3 separate regions of the Homo sapiens genome follow, and regions 2 and 3 are each linked to region 1. Evidence: promoter capture Hi-C in 16 types of primary human blood cells and fetal thymus (Javierre and others, 2016). All regions are on one chromosome and are shown on one strand. The core of a region is centred on a gene start or on the middle of the fragment in contact, and the rest is flanking DNA. Distances in the headings are between cores, read along the strand shown. Region 1 holds the start of ZFX-AS1 (ZFX antisense RNA 1). Region 2 overlaps APOO (apolipoprotein O). Region 3 holds the start of PDK3 (pyruvate dehydrogenase kinase 3).

What was found. The method cuts DNA at HindIII sites, captures the fragments that hold promoters and counts their contacts. A CHiCAGO score of 5 or more calls a contact.
Region 2: a fragment that was not itself captured here is called in contact with the fragment with the promoter of ZFX-AS1 in region 1 in 2 of 17 cell types (total CD4 T cells and naive CD8 T cells); the score reaches 6.3 in total CD4 T cells.
Region 3: the fragment with the promoter of PDK3 here is called in contact with the fragment with the promoter of ZFX-AS1 in region 1 in 4 of 17 cell types (naive CD4 T cells, naive CD8 T cells, non-activated CD4 T cells and 1 more); the score reaches 6.9 in naive CD4 T cells.

Annotation. Positions count from the first base shown.
Region 1 is chrX:24,147,052-24,151,016 of GRCh38, reverse strand. It overlaps ZFX-AS1 (ZFX antisense RNA 1), which reads left to right and starts at 1,363. Exons shown (of 3, transcript NR_046657.1): 1 at 1,363-1,462; 2 at 2,175-2,264. It overlaps ZFX (zinc finger protein X-linked), which reads right to left and starts at 1,288. Exons shown (of 10, transcript NM_003410.4): 1 at 1,223-1,288. RefSeq lists silencers at 282-791, 842-891, 912-1,321, 1,382-1,741 and enhancers at 832-1,645, 1,852-1,951. The HindIII fragment of the contact is 5,789 bases long and covers 1-3,965 here.
Region 2 is chrX:23,890,154-23,894,169 of GRCh38, reverse strand. All of the region lies in intron 1 of APOO (apolipoprotein O), which reads left to right. Among named protein-coding and RNA genes, the nearest start is that of APOO, 16 kb to the left of the region's middle. The HindIII fragment of the contact is 7,288 bases long and covers 1-4,016 here.
Region 3 is chrX:24,462,561-24,466,633 of GRCh38, reverse strand. It overlaps PDK3 (pyruvate dehydrogenase kinase 3), which reads right to left and starts at 1,348. Exons shown (of 11, transcript NM_005391.5): 1 at 1,073-1,348. The coding sequence starts at 1,178. RefSeq lists a silencer at 1,288-1,607. The HindIII fragment of the contact is 17,643 bases long and covers 1-4,073 here.

The DNA.
Region 1 (3,965 bases), core at 114-2,613:
TAAGAAAATAAAAAAGTCTGCCCTTATTCCTCGATTTAAAAAAATACCACCAACAGATCACTACTTAAATCGTTTTTCAAGAAAGTTGTTTCCACATAAATGAGTACGAATGATTCAAAATTTTATTCCTCCGCTCTCGTGTTGTGCAATTTTTTTCCCTATAGGACAAAAGAATGGCAAAAACTTTCCCATCAATCTTTATTTTTCTTCCTTTATTCAGATACTCGGGGCGGCAAAGATTGTTGGAAAAACAACTGCATCGAAAGCACCTTAGCAGCCACATATGATTTGACTTAAGCAAAAATAACATTTCCTGGGGTCCCGTATGCCCTGGTAAGCCCAGGTGTCCGGAATGCCACCTGCCCCGACTGCCCTCGGGTGGCTACAGGCGCGGGGGAAGGCGCAGGGCCAGGGGCGCTGAGGGTGAAACGGTCCCGGCGTCCGGGCGGCGGCGGTGGCCGCCTGCGGCAGCTCAGCTGAAACGCAGCGGAAACTGCAGCCAGTCACGGGGCTGCGGGAGGCAAGGCAGGAAGGTGGCGCTGCCGCCGAGCGCCTGGAGCCCGAGCGCTCATCATGGCGGCAAGGGCAATGGCCGCCACGGGGAGCGAGCACGCCCCTCCGCGCGCACACGCCGCCGCGCCGGGCCTCCGGGGCCCGTCACCGGCGCCGCTGCCGCCGCCGCCCGCTCTCCCACCCCCCCTCACGGGCTGTAGCGGAATTTTCTCTCCAGACACCGCCTCCAAGATGGCGGCTCCCCCTCCCGGCAACCCCCTCTATCGTCCCCTGCAGCAGGCGCCGAGCCGCCGCCATCTTGTCCCCCGTCCCTCCCCCCCCCTCACCGATATTTACATAGCGAAAATCGGCCCGGCCGGCCTGCGGCCTTCACCTCACGCCTGCAGCCTTCGCCTCCTCGCCAGGCCTCACCCCGGCGCGGTGCCCCAGGTCGGCCGCGGAGCCGACCCGGGGCCCCTCGACCGCCTCCGGCACAACCGGGCGACCCTCCCCCAACCCCCGCCCGCTTACGGAGCGCGCCTCCGCCGCCGCTCGGGGCAGCCGGGCTCCTCCCCGGGCCTAACTGCGGCCTCCTCGGGGCCTGCTCGGCGCCGCGCGCCACGCCGCCCGGCCTAGCGCGGGAGGGCGCCTTGCGGGCCGCCGACCAGGCCGAGACCAGGCCGCTGTGCGCGCACTAGGCCCCGCGGCCGCGGCGGCACCCGGGACTCACCGGACGGACGTGCGGGCGGCCGGCGACGGTGGCGGGTGCTGCAGGCCGGCCTTTCTCTGGAGCACTGGGCCGGGCTCCGGCTGGTGGGGCGGGCGGAGGGAGGGAGGAGGGGCCGAGCTCGGAGCTGACAAAAAGCGGCCCAGCTCCCCGGCACGGGCCCGCCGTCAGCACGTCACGTCACCGCCCGGGAGAGAGACCCAGGAAAATGCGGAAGGGTAGACAGGCCCCCTCCTCCGCCCGGTGGGTCCTCCTGGCACCCCGTGTCGGCGCCGCTCCCGCCCCGCGACCGGGGAGCCCAGTGGCCTCGCTGCGGCGGGGTCTCCGGCGGCCGGAGTCTCCGTGACAGCGCCCCCCTTCTTTCCACCTCCTCCGCGCTCCCGCCCGCCGCCGCCACACACGCGCCGCTGCCGCCGCCGCCTCGGCCGTAAAGCCCGCGCGGGGCCGCGGTCGGCCGACCCCGCGGAGAGGCAGGCGGCCCGGCCGCCCCCCACCATGTCCCGTGGGCCGCGGCCGCCCCCCGGGGGCCTCCCTGGAGACCTACCGCCTCTCGCGCCGGTCCTGGCCGAGGCTCCAGCTCGAGTTGTTTGCAGGCCCTCAGACCCCCGCCCGCAGTAAATGTGTTTTCTTCATCCCCGTGGCTGGGGAGGAAGATAAATTTAGCAACCCCCGCCGTCCCCTGCCTTCGCTTAAAAAAAAAAAATCTTTGAAATAAAATGAAAACGGGCTTGCCAGTCTAAATGGGTGTGCGGGAAGGGGGGTGGAGTGGGGGGAGAAGGGTTATCCCTAGAGCACCTACCAGGCCGTCTACTTTTTAAAAATAAGCAGTCAGAGCCAAACTGATTTTATTAGTTTGTACGGGGGAGGGAGATGAGCAAAGTTGCATTTTGAAACGTTTCGCACGTTGCAAAGAACAGGAATTTTCTGTGTATTTTCCTATGTACCCGTGTTTCAGAGCTTGGGAGCCTGTGAAATGTAAGACTGGTGTCATCGTTTCATAAATCATGAATTTTCCACATTCCTTAATAGAGAGGAGCCCAATTGGGTATGGATTTTTTTTTTTTTAAACACACTGCTTAAACAAGCCTTTTGAAGTTTCAAAAGACTTGGGAGAGAAGGGGAAAATGATTAAACAGCACTTACCAACTTCAAAAATGTGTATTTCGCACTTTACTTAGTTTAAATGTTTATGCTATCTTTCCATGCTGAACTTGGAACCCAAACTCTGTTTTAAAGTTACTAGGGAAAAGTTAAATAGTGGAGTCTTTACATTAATCTGGAATCTGGCATGCTATCCTTTAACACAGCACTAAATGTTAAAGGCATTTTTAAACAATAAGAAACACAAAAATTATAAAGCAAATAGTATACTGGTGTGAAATCTCTTTAAATACAGAGGCCACGTATTTTAGTTGCCTGACATAACTCTTTAAAACTCCCAGAATGCAATTTGTCCCTTCCCTCAGACATCTCTCAATCACAAATGCTTTCAAAAAGGAAAAACAAAAGTAGAGTAAGAAGAAATCTCTGAGCATGCACTGGATGATAATTTTCCTCTCGGGGCTTTAGTCTGAATTTTTCCAAGCGATTAAATTTCCTTTCAAAAATAGTAACAGCATGTATTCATTGTTTATAAAAATTACATCAGGCTGTGATAGACTTTCACAGAAAGACATTTCACAGAAAGGTAAATGAAACTAAGCAATGTTGTTTCAATAAAAAAAAATGAGAAATAGCTTGTGTGCCCACATTAATATTTCTTGCACTCCCAGACTGGAGTGCAATGGCGTGATCTTGGCTCACTGAACCTCTGCCTTCGGGGTTCAAGCGATTCTCCTGCCTCAGCCTCCCGAGTAGCTGGGATTACAGGCACTTGCCACCACGCCTGGCTAATTTTTCTATTTTTTTAGTAGAGATGGGGTTTCACCATGTTGGCCAGGCTGGTCTCCAACTCCTGACCTCAGGTAATCCACCCGCCTCGGCCTCCCAAAGTGCTGGGATTACAGGCGTGAGCCACCGTGCCCGGCCGCCCACATTAATATTTCAAAACATTGATAATCAGCGTTTAAGTACTTTCCAAGGGCCTCAGTGTGATGCTACGGTATGGCAAGAATGGAGGCCAGGTTCCCTGGTTCAGTCCTGTAATCACAGCACTTTGGGAGGCCGAGGCGAGAGGATCACTTGAGCCCAGGAGTTCAAGACTAGCCTGGGTAACATGGTGAGACCTCGTCTCTATTAAAAAAAAAAAAAAAGAAGAAGAATAGAGCCTCACTTCATCCATGCAACTGTAAGCAGCATGTTCAAGACAGAAAAACCTAATGTCACCATTCTTGTTAGTTTTTCCATAATTACCATCAAAAATACTTATACATCCACCAGTGTAAAGCACTTAAGAAAACAGTGTCCAAGGAGCATGAAAGAAAAAGAAGTTTTCTCAGTTTAAAAGATCACAAGTAGTTTAGGGATTGATACTTTCAAAGAGCCCTTTGTCATTACTTTTCATACAGGAAGAGACTGTTAACTTTGGTGGGAAACAAAGAAAGGATGGCCTAGTTCTATTAGATTAGATAAACCTTTATTAAAGTCCAGCAAACTTTATAAAGTCCAGTTATTTTATAGATGACTATACAGATAAGGTCAACTATATTTTTTTTAGTTAAAAAAAGGTAAAGTTGTACTTTAAGCCCATTTATGGAAGTCTGTAAAGAACATTGTTTAACTGGTAAAAGAACAATGGTAAAAATCA
Region 2 (4,016 bases), core at 776-3,275, 260 kb after region 1:
CTGTCTCAAAAAATAATAATAATAAAATAAATTTTAAAAAATAAATTTCACTTATGAAATTTATATAAATAGTTGTAGTAAATTCCGACTCCATATATGATTTATCAAGGTAACTGCTTTGAAAAGAAAACATCTATTTAAAAAAAATGTTGTAAGTAATACTGAAATACTTTTCCTTGTAAAAAGTCAAAATAGTACAGTTGGTCAGGTTGCTATTGTCCACCTCCCCCCAGCCCCCTTTCCAGAGAAAGCCTCTGTTCTGTTTGGTGTGTGGCCCTACATGTTAGAAAGGATTGCTGGCCGGGCATGGTGGCTCATGCCTATAATCCCAGCACTTTGGAAGGCCGAGGCAGGCAGATCACCTGAGATCAGGAGTTCGAGACCAGCCTGGCCAACATGGAGAAACCCCATCTCTACTGAAAATACAAAAAAAATTAGCTGGGCGTGGTGGCAGGCACCTATTATTCCAGCTACTCAGGAGGCTGAGGCTGGAGAATCACTTGAACCCAGGAGACGGAGATTGCAGTGAGCCGAGATTGTGGCACTGCACTCCAGCCTGGGTGGCAAGAGTGAAACTCTGTCTCAAAAAATAAAAAATATAAAAATAAAAGATTGCTGTATAAAATGTAGATACTGTCCTGAATGCTCCTTATGGAGGAGAGTATTCTGTATTCTTTTGACGTTTCAAGAATTGTGGACTCATTTCTCTTGATTTTTATTTTTATTTATTTATTTATTTATTTTTCAGACGGAGCCTTGCCCTGTCGCCCAGACTGGAGTGCAGTGGCGTGATGTCGGCTCACTGCAAGCTCCGCCTCCCAGGTTTTCTCCTGCCTCAGCCTCCTGAGTATCTGGGACTACAGGTTCCCACCACCACGCCTGGCTAATGTTTTGTTTTTTTTTTTTTTGTATTTTTAGTAGAGATGGGGTTTCACCATGTTAGCCAAGATGGTCTCGATCTCCTGACCTCGTGATCTGCCCGCTTCGGCCTCCCAAAGTGCTGGGATTACAGGCGTGAGCCACCGCGCCCGGCCTTTCTCTTGATTTTTCATTCAATTTACAACACGTTACTGAGGACAACAGTGTAGCCTGATTTTGACAAAATTTTTTTATTGTCTTCATCATTTTGTTGTATTCTGAGTTCTTTCACATAGTTCTTTTTTTTGTGTTGGTTACTTAGAATAAGAATAATCTCAAAAGTATTGTCAGTGTTCATAGTTTGTTTTTTTTTTTTGTAAAAAACCCATTTCAGATTTTTACCTCCTAAATAATTAGAATCAGATTAAAATAGTTTTGTTTCGAGTGAAAAATGCTGTCAGAATGGAAATTATTGCAGAAAAGGTTGACTGAGGCCAGGCGCGGTGGCTCACGCTTGTAATCCCAGCACTTTTTTTTTTTTTTTGTGACGGAGTCCCGCTCTGTCGCCCAGGTTGGAGTGCAGTGGCGCGATCTTGGCTCACTGCAAGCTCCACCTCCCAGGTTCACGCCATTCTCCTGCCTCTGCCTCCTGAGTAGCTGGGACTACAGGCGCCCGCCACCATGCCCTGCTAATTTTTTGTATTTTTAGTAGAGATGGGGTTTCACTGTGTTTCTAGGATGGTCTCGATTTCCTGACCTCGTGAACTGCCCACCTTGGCCAATTCCAGCAGTATGAGAGGCCAAGGCAGGTGGATCACCTGAGGTAAGGAGTTTGAGACCACCAGCCTAGCCAACATGGTGAAACCCTGTCTCTACTAAAATTCCAAAAAGTAGCTGGGCATGGTAGCGGGCGCCTGTAATGCCAGCTACTTGGGAGGCTGAGGCAGGAGAATCGCTTGAATCCGAGAGACGGCGGAGGTTGCAGTGAGTGGAGATCGCGCCACTGCACTCCAGGCTGGGCGACAGTGCGAGACTCCGTCTCAAAAAAAAAAAAAATAATTAGCTGGGTGTGGTGGTGGCTGCCTGTAATCCCAGCTACTTGAGAGGCTGAGGCAGGAGAATCGTTTGAACCCCAGGGGCACGGAGGTTGTCTTGAGCCGAGATTGCGCCACTTCACTCCAGCCTGGGTGAAAGAGCAAAACTCTGTCTCAAAAAAAAAAAAATTTATTTTCATTCTTTATCATTAAAGAGTTGCTTTTATGTTGTCCTTTGTGTGGCTTGTAGGATCATTAAATAAGGTAGAGAATCTCATAAAAACAGTTTTGGAGAAAGATAGTTGAAAGCATAATGTCATACATTTTAAATATATAAATGTAAACTATATATAGAAATACATAAAGTATTATATATACTTAAACTATATAAACTATATTTTTAAGTATATATAGTATGTATAAGTCTATAAGTATATATATACATATAGTTTATATACATATATATAAACTTGGTAGAAGGGTAAGATACTGTAAGTGTATATATACTTACATAGAGAGAGTTTAAATTATTTACATGGAAAATAGAAATAATATATTCCATCACTCCAAAAAAAAGGTCACCTTTGGATATAGCCTGTTTGAAGTAGCAGTTGAAAAGCCTGGTAACATGTCCCTCAGGGAGTTAGAAACACAGGAAACACACAAGCCTGAGGCTTAGGGAGAGGCCCAGGCTAGGGATACTGATTTGAGCATCAGTAGCATATGAGTGGGAGTTAAAGACTTAGATTTTGGCCAGGTGTGGTGGCTCACGCCTATAATCCCAGCACTTTGGGAGGCTGAGGCAGGTGGATCCCTTGAGCCCAGGAGTTTGAGACCAGCCTGGCCAACATGGCGAAACCCTGTCTCTACTAAAAACACAAAAATTAGCTGAGCGTGGTGGCGGGCGCCTGTAATCCCAGCTACTTGGGAGGCTAAAGCATGAGAATCCCTTGAACCCGGGAGGCGGAGATTGTAGTGAGCCGAGATCAGGCCACTGGACTCCAGTCTGGGTGACAGAGCGAGACTCTGTCTGAAAGAAAAAAAAAAGAAAGAATTAGATTTTAATGAAATTGCCCTGGAGTGAGAAGAGGAGAGAGTTAAAGACTACTCCATGACTCATCAACCTTGAAGAGCTATGCAGAGGAAGAGAAGGCCCAAAAGGGGAGGAGAGAGTACCTAGAAAGCCTCTAGAATGGGGATAGGGTAGAATCCTGTAAGCCAAAGAAAGGGGTTGAAGATGTAGAGTAGTCACCAGTTTCAGGGTGCAACCAAGATGCCAGATGTCCAGTGGGGTTTAGCAACTGGGAGGCTATTGGTGGTCTTGGGAAGAAAGGTTTTAGGTGCATTTAGTAGTAAAGGGAGGAGGAGATAAAATTGAGAAAGCAAACAGAATCTGCCTTTTTGACTTTGTGCTTAAATGCGGATGCTCCTCAGCTTGTGGTGGGGTTGCATTCTGATAAACCTATCATAAGTTGAAAATATCATTAAGTCAAAAATTAACACACCTAACCTACCAAACATCATAATTTAGCCTACCCTCCCTTAAATGTACTCAGAACACTTCCAGTAGCCCACAGTTGGGCAGAATCATCTAACACAAAGCCTATTTTATAATAAACTATTGAATGTTTCATGTACATTATTGAATACTGCACTGAAAGTGAAAAGCAGAATGGTTATATGGGTACTCAAAGTGCGGTTTCTACAGAATGCGTATCGCTTCTGCACCATGTAAGGTTGAACCATTTGTAAGTCTGAGACCATTTGTATAACATACATATAGGAAAGTAAACGGGGCATAAGTGAATTTTTACAAACTAAACATACTAGCACTCTAGAAGCTCTTCTCGTGGCCCTTCTAGTCACTACCCAGCTTGCTAAGGGTATCCACTATTCTGCCTTCTAACCATAGTCTACTTTTAAAATAAATTTGTCAATGGAAGTTGGTAGAAGGGTAAGGTAGTTGTTAGAGAGGGAATTAGGGGTGGAGGGTATTTGTTGTGTTTTGTTTAAGACGGGAGAGATTTTCTTGAATGTAAATAAATGTCATAATTTCTCTAGTGGGTGGCCAGTCACTCTGTTTCTTTTTATATTTAGGACAGTTTTCATTTTATACTTTCAAAT
Region 3 (4,073 bases), core at 99-2,598, 320 kb before region 1:
AAAGTATGGACATCACTTTTTGCATATCAGGTCTTCCTCAAATGTTCTACCTACTCTGCACTTTAGTTTTTATGCCCAACTGACACTATCACTGACACCCTTGACATTTACATAAAATTCATTAAATGAACAGACACCCTACGATTTCCCCTGGAGAGCTTAGAACATCTTTGCTGCTGGATTTGATTTTCCTCCAGGGATGCTGAGTTCCATTCTGATACCTCAATGCATGCGTTTTACTTTTAGGTGTTTCACAACCAGCTCCTTCGTTTTCTGGGGAAACATGATTCAGTTAACAGAAGGTGGTGGAATCTATTCCCATCTCAGCTAGGCCTGAGGCAGGCTGGGAACCCGAATCTTCTTTGGTCCCACCTCAATCCGTGAAAGCCGCCCACCAGCCCACCGGACAGGGAGAATGTGGGTGGGACACCAATGGAGAAGAGAAACGAAAGGTGCTGGCACTAAAGCCAGAGTTGTATTAGACCCTGCTCTGATGCTAGGATCCCAGACGTCCGCTCTTCCCAAGCATCTAAGGCGTCTGCAGGCCAGGCCTCTAACTGATTTAACATAACCTGATGAAGACAACAGTTCGAGTCCTGCCACTCCAGCCACACAGCAACACCTTAGAGCAGAAAAGGAACAAAATGCCATTGCATAATTTATTCAACCTCAAGGTATTTCTAAACAGTTCTTACCCAACCAAAAAAAAAAAATTCTAAAAATAAAAACATTAAAAAGCCACCCACATCTCGTTCTGAAGTTTTAAGGGCTGTGAGGTTTGTGTCAAGCAGATTTGAAGCTAACGACCGCAGGTTTGGGGAGTCTCGCCTGCGATGAGGGTCCTGCAATGAGACGCCGTTTCTGTGTCTCCGGGTAAGTCCCAGGCTGGGTGCGAGGGGGCCAGGCCCTGCCCCTCCGCGCCCCGAAATCCGAGCCCCAGGAGAGCCCCCCGGATATTCCCTAGCCCCGCCTGCGGTTCCCACAGACTTTACCCCGAAGCTGCGGAGATCCGGGGTGGCAGCCCGAATGGCGGCGGCCCCGGGCCCATGGGGACCCTTGGCCCCGTACTCACCGAAGTCCAGGAATTGTTTGATGGAGAGCGGCGACGGCGAAAAGCGCGAGTAGCGCTCGATCTGCTTGGGCACCGGCTGCTTCAGCAGCCACCGGAACAGCCGCATCCTCGCCCGGGCGGCGCACAGACCCGCCTAGACGCCCGGGTGGCCGCAAGGGCTGGCGCAGCCAAGCCGCACGGATAGGGCACGTTTGCGAAGCGCGCACCCCGGCCTCGATCTCGGCCTCGGCGCCGCCGGTGCAGCCGCCGCAGCAGCAGCAGCAGCTCCAGGACAGCGGCGGGCCGCCCGCGGCTTCCCTAGGCTCCGCCTCGCTGGGCGGAGTCGGTTGCTGCACGTACGCGGCGCGCGAGGGGAGGCGAGGAGCGCGAGGGGCACGCGGCCGCGCGCGCCCTCCACTGATTGGCCGCCGCTGCCTCTGTGACGTTTGTGTTTTGTCCGGGCGCGGCGCCAGAGACCCCCCTCCCTGGCTCATGGGACTCAGCCCAGCCCAGCAAGTGCAGCCGCTTTCAGCTCCGCCTCTGGCTGGGTTCTCCGCTGCCGAAAGGTAGCCGAGGTGCCCGCGGACCGGGAAGAGGCCAGGAGCCCGGAATCCGATCCTCCGCGCTGCTCAAGACCCTTCTCAACCGCAGGCGCCTTTTCCGGGAGGAGGACTTGCCGTTCGCTGCATCCTGACACTTAGATTTTACAGCCTAACTAGACTGACTCTGTTTCGTGGCCCAGCCCCACCCCCACCTCCCTGCCTGACTCCCAAGAGAACACCTTTGGAACACCTTTGGACTGGATTGTTAGTTCGCTGATTCTCTTTTTCGTGGTTCCTTTCCCCTCCTTCCCGCACAAGATTAAGTGACTGATTGCATTTCATGTCCCCCCACCACCACCGTTGGACGGGATCCATTGTGAGGTCAAGGGTCAATAACACCCCCTACCTCCCCAATGCCAGTGGACAGGATAATTGCAAGGTCACTGACTCTGTTTCATACCCCCCCACCCCACTACTACCATTGGAAAGGATCAAATGTAAGGTCACTGGCACTTTCTTTCATACCCCTTCTCTACACCACCACCATAGGACAGCCCCCTTCACGCTTCACCACCACTTTTGGACAGGAGTCTATGCTTACACAGTGTTGGGTATTCTTTATCTCAAGTGAACTTGAGAGCCTGGCATGGTGACATGCACCTATAGTCCCAACGACCCTGCAGGCGGAGGTGGGAGGATCACGTGAGCCCAAAAGTTCAAGATCTGCCTAGGCAACATACCCAGACCCCCCTCTCAAAAAAAAAAAAAAGTGAACTTGAACTCAGGGCTCAGTATATGAAATTGTTATTTCCTATTATGAGTGAATAAAGTACAGCTTACTTTAGCCATTTCCACCAAACCTTGGCTTTTTTTTTTTTTTTGGCAATATGTAAACATAAACATATGTAACTAAAAGGACAGGAAGAATGTTCTTTAAGGAAAGGTACAAATGTGACTGGAAGCCACTCCTTGGGTCTCTGATTGGACTAGTTTTCTCACTGAATGAGATTATTGGTGGGTAGCTATTTAGCTTTTGTGCCTTCAGTGGACGTTTATGCAGCCAATTCTTTGCTTAATAAAATAGTTGCATCTCTACTCTGAATGTAAAGAAAAGTAACATACACAGTAAAAGACCTCGGCCAGGTGCGGTGGCTCACGCCTGTAATCCCAGCACTTTGGGAGGCCGAGGCGGGCGGATCACGAGGTCAGGAAACCGAGACCATCCTGGCTAACGTGGTGAAACCCCAGCTCTACTAAAAGTACGAAAAATTAGCCGGGCGTGGTGGCGGGCCCCTGTAGCCCCAGCTACTCAGGAGGCTGGGGCAGGAGAATGGCATGAACCTGGGAGGCGGAGCTTGCAGTGAGCCGAGATCGTGCCACTGCACTCCAGCCTGGGCGACAGAGCAAGACTCCATCTCAAAAAAAAAGACATCCAGTGGTCTTCTAGACTTTTGGATTTTCAAGAACATCTTGGTCATCTTCATCTTGGTAGAAGTATGTAGACTACCATGTCTTTTCCATTCAAATTAAATCAAAGCATTAAAAAAGACATACTAACAACTTATTTAACCAGGAGCTTTACCAGAAGAGCTAAGTAATCCAGTTGGTGTGCATGGGCAGACAAAGAGAAGACCAGTGGCCTGTGGTTCCTAAAGTGACTTTCAGGTGCTACCTGGAAGTGGAGCGATAATTGGTGGCAGTTGTCAGTGAGCAGGAAGAAGCTGGATGTTTGTGGAGAGGGAGATTTTCTCAGCCTAAGCAACAAAGCGCTGATCTTTCTGAGCTTGCAAATCGCTTGTTTCACTTCTTCCTTTTCCACTGCACAAAATGCTACTTAAAATCCATTCTGTTGATTTGATTATTTAAACTTTCATGTGCCTAATTTTATTTCTGCTTTTCCAAAAGGTGACAAAGTCCTAGAAGTTGGGAACAATATGAAAGAGCCCTATATAATGTAAAATGTGCTTAGACAAGGCTAAGGTCACCTAGCCTGTCTGCGTCACGCTTATTTTTATGTCAGATTAAGATACCTGATTTATCTCCCTGGCATTTGTGACAGTCAAATGAAATAAACCACATGTAATATAAATACAAGGTACTGTACCTCCTGTGTACAGCAATGCATATATTTTTACCTAATACTTTCATGATAACTTGCAGAGGCCAGAAGTGACACCAGTGTGTTGATAAATAGATCTTGATGAACTTTTTTCAACTCCTTGTACACACCAAGGTCTAGTGCAGACCCCACTCCCAGTGGCTTTCAAAAGTGAAATCCCTGGACCTGCGGCAGCAGCATCACCTGAGAACTTGTTAGAAATGCAAACTCCTGGGGCGTCTAATCCTAGCACTTTGGGAGGCAGAGTCGGGCAGGTTGCTTGAGCTCAGGAGTTGGAGACCAGCCTGGGCAACATGGCAAAACTCCGTCTCTACTAAAAATACAAAAATATTAGCAGGGCAAGGTGGTGCGCTCCTATAGT